3 separate regions of the Homo sapiens genome follow, and all the other regions are linked to region 3. Evidence: promoter capture Hi-C in human tissues and cell types (Jung and others, 2019). All regions are on one chromosome and are shown on one strand. Each heading gives the region's core, a stretch centred on a gene start or on the middle of the fragment in contact. The rest is flanking DNA. Distances are from core to core; before and after follow the strand shown. Region 1 overlaps COBL (cordon-bleu WH2 repeat protein). Region 2 overlaps COBL (cordon-bleu WH2 repeat protein). Region 3 holds the start of FIGNL1 (fidgetin like 1).

Region 1 (2,737 bases), core at 88-2,587, 640 kb before region 3:
AATGAGTCGACTTCACTTTTGAAATATAGTTTTGCCAGATGAAGCAGTAGTCCCCACCCTTTGTGGCACCAGGGACCAGTTTTGTGGAAGACAATTTTTCCACGGACCAGTGGGGCAGGGATGGTTTCGGGATAAAACTGTTCCACCTCAGATCATCAGACATTAGATTCCCATAAGGAGTGCACAATCTAGATCCCATGCATGCACAGTTCACAATAGGGTTTGCGCTCCTAAGAGAATCTAACGTGGCCACTCATGTGATGTGAGGCAGAGCTCAGGCAGTAATGCTTGTTCACTTACCACTCACCTCTTGCTGTGCAGCTTGGTTCCTATCAAGCCACGAATTGGTACTGGTCTGTGGCCCAGGGTTTGGGAACCCCTGAGATAAACTATTCTTGGTTGGAAGTTTTTAAGTATCCTTGATTGGCAGGTGGCGTTTTTTTTCTCCGTTTTTAGCACTTTGAATATGTCATTCCACCCTCTTCTGGCTTGCAAAGTTTTTACTGAGAAACCTACTGATAATATTATAAGACTCCCTTGAAAGTGATGAATCAATTTCTCTTGCTGTTTTCAAGTTTCTTTCTTTGTCTTTGACTATTGATAGCTTGATTTTAATGAATTGTGGTATGGTCCTCTTTGGGTTTATTCTAGTTGGAGTCCTTTGAGCTTTTAAAATTTTGTATGTCTATTTCCTTCCTCCAATTTGGAGAATTGTCAGACATTACTTCTCCAGATCAACTCTCTGCCCCTTTCTCTCTTCTCCTTCTCTGATCCCCATAATGCATATTTTCATCCCCTTGGCATTGTCCCATAAAGTCCTTAAGGCTGTGTTCAATTTTTGAATTTTTTTTTATTCCTTTACTCAATAATTTCAACTGACCTGTCTTTTAGTTCACTGATTATTTCTTCTTCTTCTTAATACAGCCTGCTGTTGAACTCCTCCAGTGAACTTTTTAGTTCGGTTATTTTATTTTTCAGCTTCAGAACTTCTGTTTTTTATAGTTTCTGTCTCTTTATTGATATGATTCTATTCATGCATAGTTTTGCTGATTTTGTTTAGCTGTCTTTCTGAGTATTCTCTTGTAGTGCACTGAACTTTAATTTTTTTGTCTTTTCTGGCCATAGATTTCCATTTATTGTTATTTCTCTCTAGATGTTTATTTTGTTCCTTTAATTGGGCCATGTTTCCCTGTTTCTTCATGTACCTTGTTATTTTTTAATGTAATTTGTGCATTTGACAAAATAGCCACCTCTTCCAGCCTTTACGGACTGGCTTCTTACAGTGTAATAACATGTCAGTCAGCTCAGCTAGAGATTCTTGGGGCCTCTCAACCCTTTTCTGGATATCCATCTTCCCTGGGCTTGTTGGTGTATTTTCCAATTAGAAGGTTTGCTGATTTCTTCTTTATGAGCTTGTAATCTCGTGCTCTCTCTTGCATCTGTCTATGGTACTGCAGATTTTCTGGCACTGCGGCCAGCTTCTGAGCTCTCTTATTTTCTAAAGCCTTCAGTCATCCATAGTATTTCAGTTTTGTCTGTATTCCTGGTCAACTGAGACAGAAATCAGTCCCTGAACAAGCCTCCCCACAAATCCAGAACATTGCATGTACTTTTTACTCATTTCCTCCCGAGGGATAAGCAGTGAGCTGGGTGCTTTCTCTTGATTGCACTGAGCTGTGCTGGCCTTTGCCTGTGGCACTGGCAGATCTCTGCTGTTGCAACCAGCCTCTGAGCTCCTTTTTTCTCAGTAGCTCCCAGGCATTCAAAGTGTGCCAGTTTCCCATCAGTGCTCCCAGTCAGTCGAGACATAAACTAGTCCCTCAGGCAGCCCCCCTGAAAAGCTGGAATGTTAGATGTACATTCCATTCTTCTCTTTTCTTCCCAAGGGAAAAGCCATGAATTGGGCTTTTCTCCTGCAGACACTGAGCGATACTGGGTTAGGGGAAGGGCTGTCACAGTTGAGGTGAAATGGCTTTTCTTACCCATTTCAGCATGGCCATTCTTGGCATTAAGCTTGCCTATGGTCCTGTGCCTTCTTAACTGGTTTCTGGAGTTCTCATAAAAGCTTCTGGATTACAAATTGCTGTTAAGTTGATGTCTTTGTGGGGAAACTGAGGTGCGGGGCTTCCTTTTCTGCTATCTAGTCAACATCACTTCTTCATGACAAGGAGTCTTAAAATTGAGATAGCAATTTTAGGATCTTGTCTCTTCACTGAATTTTATGTGTTGTATACCTGAGGAGTTTTAGTAAATGGATTTATTGAAAACTCGAAAAATAAAGAGAGAAAAAGAAATGTGAGGAAAAGATAAAATTACAGAGTGTTTTAAGAAGTTTAATTTGTTATTGCCAAAACCAAATAATTTTAATATTTAGCTAAAGGCAATAGGGGCTAATTTAGTTAATTATGGCTCATCAATTCTGTGGAGTACTAGGCAGCCATTAAAAAATAGTTGAAATTCTGCTAAGAGGGTTGATTTTAAGTGTTTTTACCACAAAGGAAAAAAAAAAAGATAAATGGTAATGATGTGAACTGATAGATATGTTAATTAGCTTGCTTGTGATTATTTCACTATAGATATGTATATCAGATCATCAGTTGTATACCATACACACACACAATGTTTACTTGTTTGTTCCTCAGTAAAGCTGAAAAATTACAGGAAAATATATGGCTAACAAAACAAATCTATGTCTCTCCCTCTGAAACTCCACTAAAAAAAAGTATTACTTCACTGT
Region 2 (2,700 bases), core at 4-2,503, 800 kb before region 3:
GGACAGGGGTCCACCCTAGGCTATTTTGGGAACACACTCTGATTTTTCTTTGAATCGTTCAATGTAGTCATTTATTGTTCATGTAGTTTAAAAATAATTAAAAATGTAAATGAGTCATCTGCACAAAAAAAGCCCATTTGTTCTTGCCAAACTCTGGAAGAAGTCTGCAAGTATGACAATCTGTGTAACTGATAGAATCTACAAATCAAGGACATCATGGAATTGCAACCACAATAACTCTTTCTTCATAAACATTATAATGCTTCATTAATCAGCGTTTCTGCATTTTATTTGAATGAGATAGAAGTTATATGGCCCAGATCTAATAGCATGGCCTGTGCTACACTGTACGGTGTGCAGGCAGGATTCTCTCTCCACCTCACGGGGGCTGACAGCCAGACCAGCAGGGATGTTGGGGCTGGGACAAGGTCAGGGCTGGGCTGTGTGCCAGGGGAGAATTTTCTCCTGGAGCTTTGGGGAGTGAGCCATGATTGGAAGTGGGATGAGAGGATGGGCAGGAGGCCCAGGGGAGGGGAATTGCTTGGTGCATGTGTCCTGCTGACAACAAACAGCATTTACTATGGGCTTCTGAGCTGTCAGGGACAGAGGAGGCGGCCCCTGCTGATGGAGATGGAGCTCCTGCTTGGATAGACTTGCTGCAGGCCATTTGTCTCCCTGGTCCAAATTATACAAGAAAATGCCATCTTCTTCATAGAGTCTTTTGTCTTTTTATTTCAAGTAGGAAACTTACATACTTGCTTTTCTGCATTAAGGCTAGGATATTTATTTTTTTAGTTTTAAATTCATGGAGTGATAAAAAGAAGTGTGAAATATTTTCTAAATGCTACTAGATATTTTTAGGCCTTTCTACTTAAAAATAAATGACACATACATACCACATGGTATAATTCATAGATATCTTCTTTGCATTTGCAGAGATCTTTGCCATAATGAAAACTAAGTCTTTGGATAATATATTATTTTTGCTAAAATCATTTCCTCACAAAATTTCAAGTTACTCTGCAGGCAGGATTTGTCCCTTACCTAACTTTGTTTTGCATAATTTGATAATGTCAATAAGAAAACTTTAAAAGTGCCCCAATGTTTGAATAGTGCCATATGGTTTGCGAGGTGCCTTTTGCTTATTTCACATCACTTAATCCCAGCCTTGCTTTTAGCTAAACAGTTGTGTCTATCTTATTGCCCCTCTAGAACCTTTCTGAGATCTGAGACCATACACTGTACTATCATTTATGTTATAGACTCCCTAGGAATTACCTTGTAAATGGTAGGTCCTGATACATGTTTGTAGAATGAATGAAACTGTATTTCTAATTTTATATATTTTTATATATCATTTCTTCTATGGATGTAATTCATTCATTGGACAGATACCTGTTGAGCTCACACTTCAGCAAGCTGCTGTTAGCTAGTCTGGTGGTTGAGACAGAATTGTCCAATCCAAGGGAGGAAGGGAATCAGTACAAATGTTGTAGAGCTGTGGAGAAAGTGTTTAGTACCGCAGAATTGGAATCTTAATTTAGGGTTTGCAGAAAATACTTCTAATTTCAGCAGGAGTGGGTAGGGATGAGGAGAAAGTGAAGATGAAAGAGTATGGGCTGGGTTTTAGAAGGGGCTGGTGTTTTGTTGGACTTTGATGGCAATTCCAGGTAGAAGAACAGCATCCACAAGACTCTGGAGATGTGAAAGCAGGAGTTTCAGGGAGCTGTGGACTTGCAGGAGAAGGGCGTGTGGGAGGCAGGGAAGGTCATCATGGGAAGAGGCAACTGATCAGGTCCGTTAGAGTGTGGAGGAAGCCTGGCTGTAAAGGCGCGGGTTTCGGAAGCTATGAGGAAATTGGGACATTGGGTGTAGGGCTCCTCTTTGGAGGCGTTTCCTCTTTTGAATGGAAGGAGGTGTGGAAAGAGGAAGGAAAGAACAGTCTCAGCTAGCGAGCCAAGACAGGGAGAGACTAAAGATAGGAGAGCAGAGAAAAAAATGGGTGAAGCCTTAGAAGAGATGTGAGCTTAGCCCTTTTCTGGAACTGCGTTCCTTGCAGGAACTCCCTGGGGTCTCTGCAGACAGAGGCGTGGTGAAGGTGGAGCCCAGGACAAGAACATGTTGGGCGAGGTCTTCCGGGACTTGGAATGGCTGCAGCAATGATATAATGGGGCTGAGAGCAATGAGCAGGAACATCTACCTGAGGGCCCTGTTGGGGTCACCGCACGTGACTTTGTGGGGAGGGCCTGTTTCCTCTGGCAGTGTCTTGCAGCCTGGGGGAAAGCTGAGGCACTTAGGGATTGGAACTGGAGCATGCTGTGGGTGAGAGAGAGTGGCCGTAGGAGAGGCTGGGCCCCATGAGACCCTATCGGTTTGGTGTGAAAGGGAGGAAGTACCTCTGTATTGTCAAATGGCAGCATCCACACAACTCTCTCTATCTGTGGCCAGAATATAGAGTTCCCTAATTGAAGGTTTTGGACATGTGAGTGGCTATTACAGCAGCCTGGCAAAGAAGGCCGTGTGATTGAACAAGTCAAGAAACCATGAAGTATTTGAAAAGTCAGTGTTTCTGTTTATGCCTTGGTGGATGACAGCAGGTGTACAGGAAGGAGGACAGCAAATACCCACTACAGTCATGGGGCACCGGGGCATGCTGGTCCAGGCGTCTGTAGAGGACTTAGACATTCTCCTTGGAGTGCG
Region 3 (2,700 bases), core at 87-2,586:
AGTCATTTTCTCTATCCCCTGCCCCAGACCCTCTCTTTCTCAGGAAAGGATATCCAGGGATCCGGGTCCCAGTTAGTCAAGGAGATATAAGAGGAAGGCTATGAGGCTTTCTGGGAAACATTTTCTTTTTCCAAGAGAGAAGTGTTCAGAGGGAAAAGGTCCTTTCTCAGTTTGGCTCCCTCTTTGTGTTTTAGATCTGGTCATGTGAGGCTGCCTGGCTTGGATTGTGAGGGCATCTCTCGACAATGAAGTGACAAGCCTGGGGAGGAAAATCCACAGGCGAGAAGGTGGCAGAATGGAGAGATGGTCCTTCATGACTTCTTTGAGTCACCAGGTCCAGATTTCCCGCCAACCTCCAGTCTTCTTGTTATGTGATCTGATATCATTATTTACTGCAGAGGCCACTGAGTGGATGCTCTTACTTGTGTCTGAAAATCCAATTCACTAAATTAATCAAAATACGGCACTCTTCTTTTGAAACCTTGCTCCAGAACAAAGTGGAAGGTAATGATGGGGTGCTTTTCAAAGTTCCAGGGAGGTGTCCCTACACAGCAGACAGCTGTCCAAAGGAATGTAGATGTTGGCTGCGGGGAGATCTGAGTTGCCAGACTCAGTCAGAACAGGTGTCCTCTCCCTTATTTTATCTTAAACATGCATGTCATTTTTGCATGCTACTCTATGCGGTTCTTTCAGCCAGGGAACATTGCTGAGCACCCGCTCACGTGCTGTATGGAGCGCAGACTGCAGGGTGCGAGGGGCGGAGGTGATGTGCTAGGCCTGAATTCAAGAGGGGGCGCAGCCACAGGCCCCGCGATGCCGGGGTGGCCTCTTGTAACGACGTTTTAACCGCTGACCTAAGTGGATCCGCTCCTCTCCCGCCGCCCGCTCCCTGCCTGCAGCACAGGATGGCGGCTGGCTTTCCCGAGTGGGCGCAGGTGAGCCACGCTTGCTCTCCCGGGTGGGCGCAGGTGAGCCATTGTTTGCTCTCCCGGGTGGGCGCAGGAGAGCCACGCTTTGCTCTCCCAGGTGAGCCGCCGCTCGCTGTCCCGGTGAGGGGAAGTGAGCCACGCTCTATGGGAATCCTTCGAATCTTCATTCAATTTCCATCGCCTCCTTGTATTTATTTGGGAGTACTTTTAAAAATGAAGCCTATGCACAATGATGTAATAAGCGTTTATAGAACACCACTGGTCGGAGCTAGGGCCTAGGTGGCGGTGCCCGGGCCCAGGTGCCGCGCCCACGCCCCGCGCGCCGAACGCACGCACGCACGCACTCACGCACTCACGCACGCACGTACGGCGCGAGTCCGAGGGCGACAGCAGCGCGCAGGCGCACGTCAGTCCCCGCGCTTTTCGGAGGCTGCCAGCGTCCCACACCAGCCGCAGGTAGGATGCGGTGACGGGAGGCGGGGCAGGGGCGCTGCTGACCCCTGTGGAGCATCAGGGTTGGGGCGTAGGGGAGAGGCGGGCGTGTGCCTCTGGAATGCTGGGGGTCGCGGGGCGGTGACTTCGCGGGAGGCCGTGGGAGGCGGGAGCCAGGCAGTGGCTGTGCCCTTTTGCTTCTGTCTTAGCGGGAGGGTGGCTGACCCGCTAGCCCAGAACCAGACTCATCCAGGATTAGGAAGCTGGGGCCCGGCGTGGACGGCAGGCTCGGGGCCAGGTCTGCGGGCGGCTTCCTTTGGCAGAGCCTGTCCGGGGGCGGGGCCGCTTACCGCAGGCATTTACTGGGCCCAGCGGGGCTCTGGGCGCCCACAGCGGGGGTCAGTCAGTTCCCCTGTGACCCAGGCAAGCTCTTAATCTCTGTGATGAGAAAGAAGGGCTCATACCTTTCAGGGGTCATCGTGAGGAATCAGAAGAAGCAGTATTTTATAGAGTATTTTCTAAGTGCTGAGTCCTCTGTCTAGTGCTTTGCAGAATTAAAATACCTTGTCAGCTCAGTGATGTTGCTGCGCTTCTTTTATAGGTGAAAACCGGCAGAAAGACATTAAGAGATTTTCCTGCAGTCACTGCTGGCAGATGATAGAGCCAGGATTTGAAAGCAGGCAGCCTGGCTCCAGACCCTGTGCTCTTAACTCCCGTTTTGCATCAAGAACAGAATCCTATGAAAGGCTTGCACAGTGCTTGGTACTGAGTAGGCACTCCGTCAGTATTTTAGTAGCTATTATTCCAAAGGACACTGTATTCTAGGTACTAAGACAATGTGAATGGAATGGAAAACAATTCCTCCCTGCAGAAGCCAACTGTCTAGGAAGACAGATAATGACATTATTAAAATAATCAGAACATTGGCAAAATAAAGAAGATTGAAATGCAGTTCATATGACAGTGCTAATTAATCATACTTTTTAGATCTAGGAAAGGCCATAAAGGTTAAATTGACTTGGAAATGGTAAACAAGACAATGGTTGTGTCACTGATCGGTGATGGCCAGTTTTTGGTTATCCTTATTTGCCATTTAAATGATTGAATTGAAAGGAAGAAGTAAGACTTGGAAGATGAATATTGAAGGAAAGGTGAAGATGGAAAAGAGAAGGGGGTTTATTCTGAGAACAGTGACTAGAACTCTGAGGTATGGTAGAAATTTCAGGATAACAGATGATAAAGGGGAATGAAGCCATGGAGAGGAAGAGAATGATAATATTAATTGTGAAAGTTTGTGTCAAGTGTTTTCTGAGTCACCTTTCTTTCAGTTTCTCATTTC

The links. The method cuts DNA at HindIII sites, captures the fragments that hold promoters and counts their contacts. A contact is called where the count stands out against the background at its distance.
Region 1: a fragment that was not itself captured here is called in contact with the fragment with the promoter of FIGNL1 in region 3 in 1 of the 25 tissues and cell types used here (mesendoderm cells).
Region 2: a fragment that was not itself captured here is called in contact with the fragment with the promoter of FIGNL1 in region 3 in 1 of the 25 tissues and cell types used here (dorsolateral prefrontal cortex).

Annotation. Positions count from the first base shown.
Region 1 is chr7:51,089,602-51,092,338 of GRCh38, reverse strand. The region is part of intron 6 of COBL (cordon-bleu WH2 repeat protein); the gene reads left to right. Among named protein-coding and RNA genes, the nearest start is that of COBL, 230 kb to the left of the region's middle. The HindIII fragment of the contact is 4,707 bases long and covers 1-2,737 here.
Region 2 is chr7:51,244,231-51,246,930 of GRCh38, reverse strand. All of the region lies in intron 1 of COBL (cordon-bleu WH2 repeat protein), which reads left to right. Among named protein-coding and RNA genes, the nearest start is that of COBL, 71 kb to the left of the region's middle. RefSeq lists an enhancer at 2,613-2,700. The HindIII fragment of the contact is 5,893 bases long and covers 1-2,700 here.
Region 3 is chr7:50,448,986-50,451,685 of GRCh38, reverse strand. It overlaps FIGNL1 (fidgetin like 1), which reads left to right and starts at 1,336. Exons shown (of 4, transcript NM_001287492.4): 1 at 1,336-1,385; 2 at 1,963-2,568. RefSeq lists silencers at 1,190-1,379, 1,521-1,815. The HindIII fragment of the contact is 15,882 bases long and covers 1-2,700 here.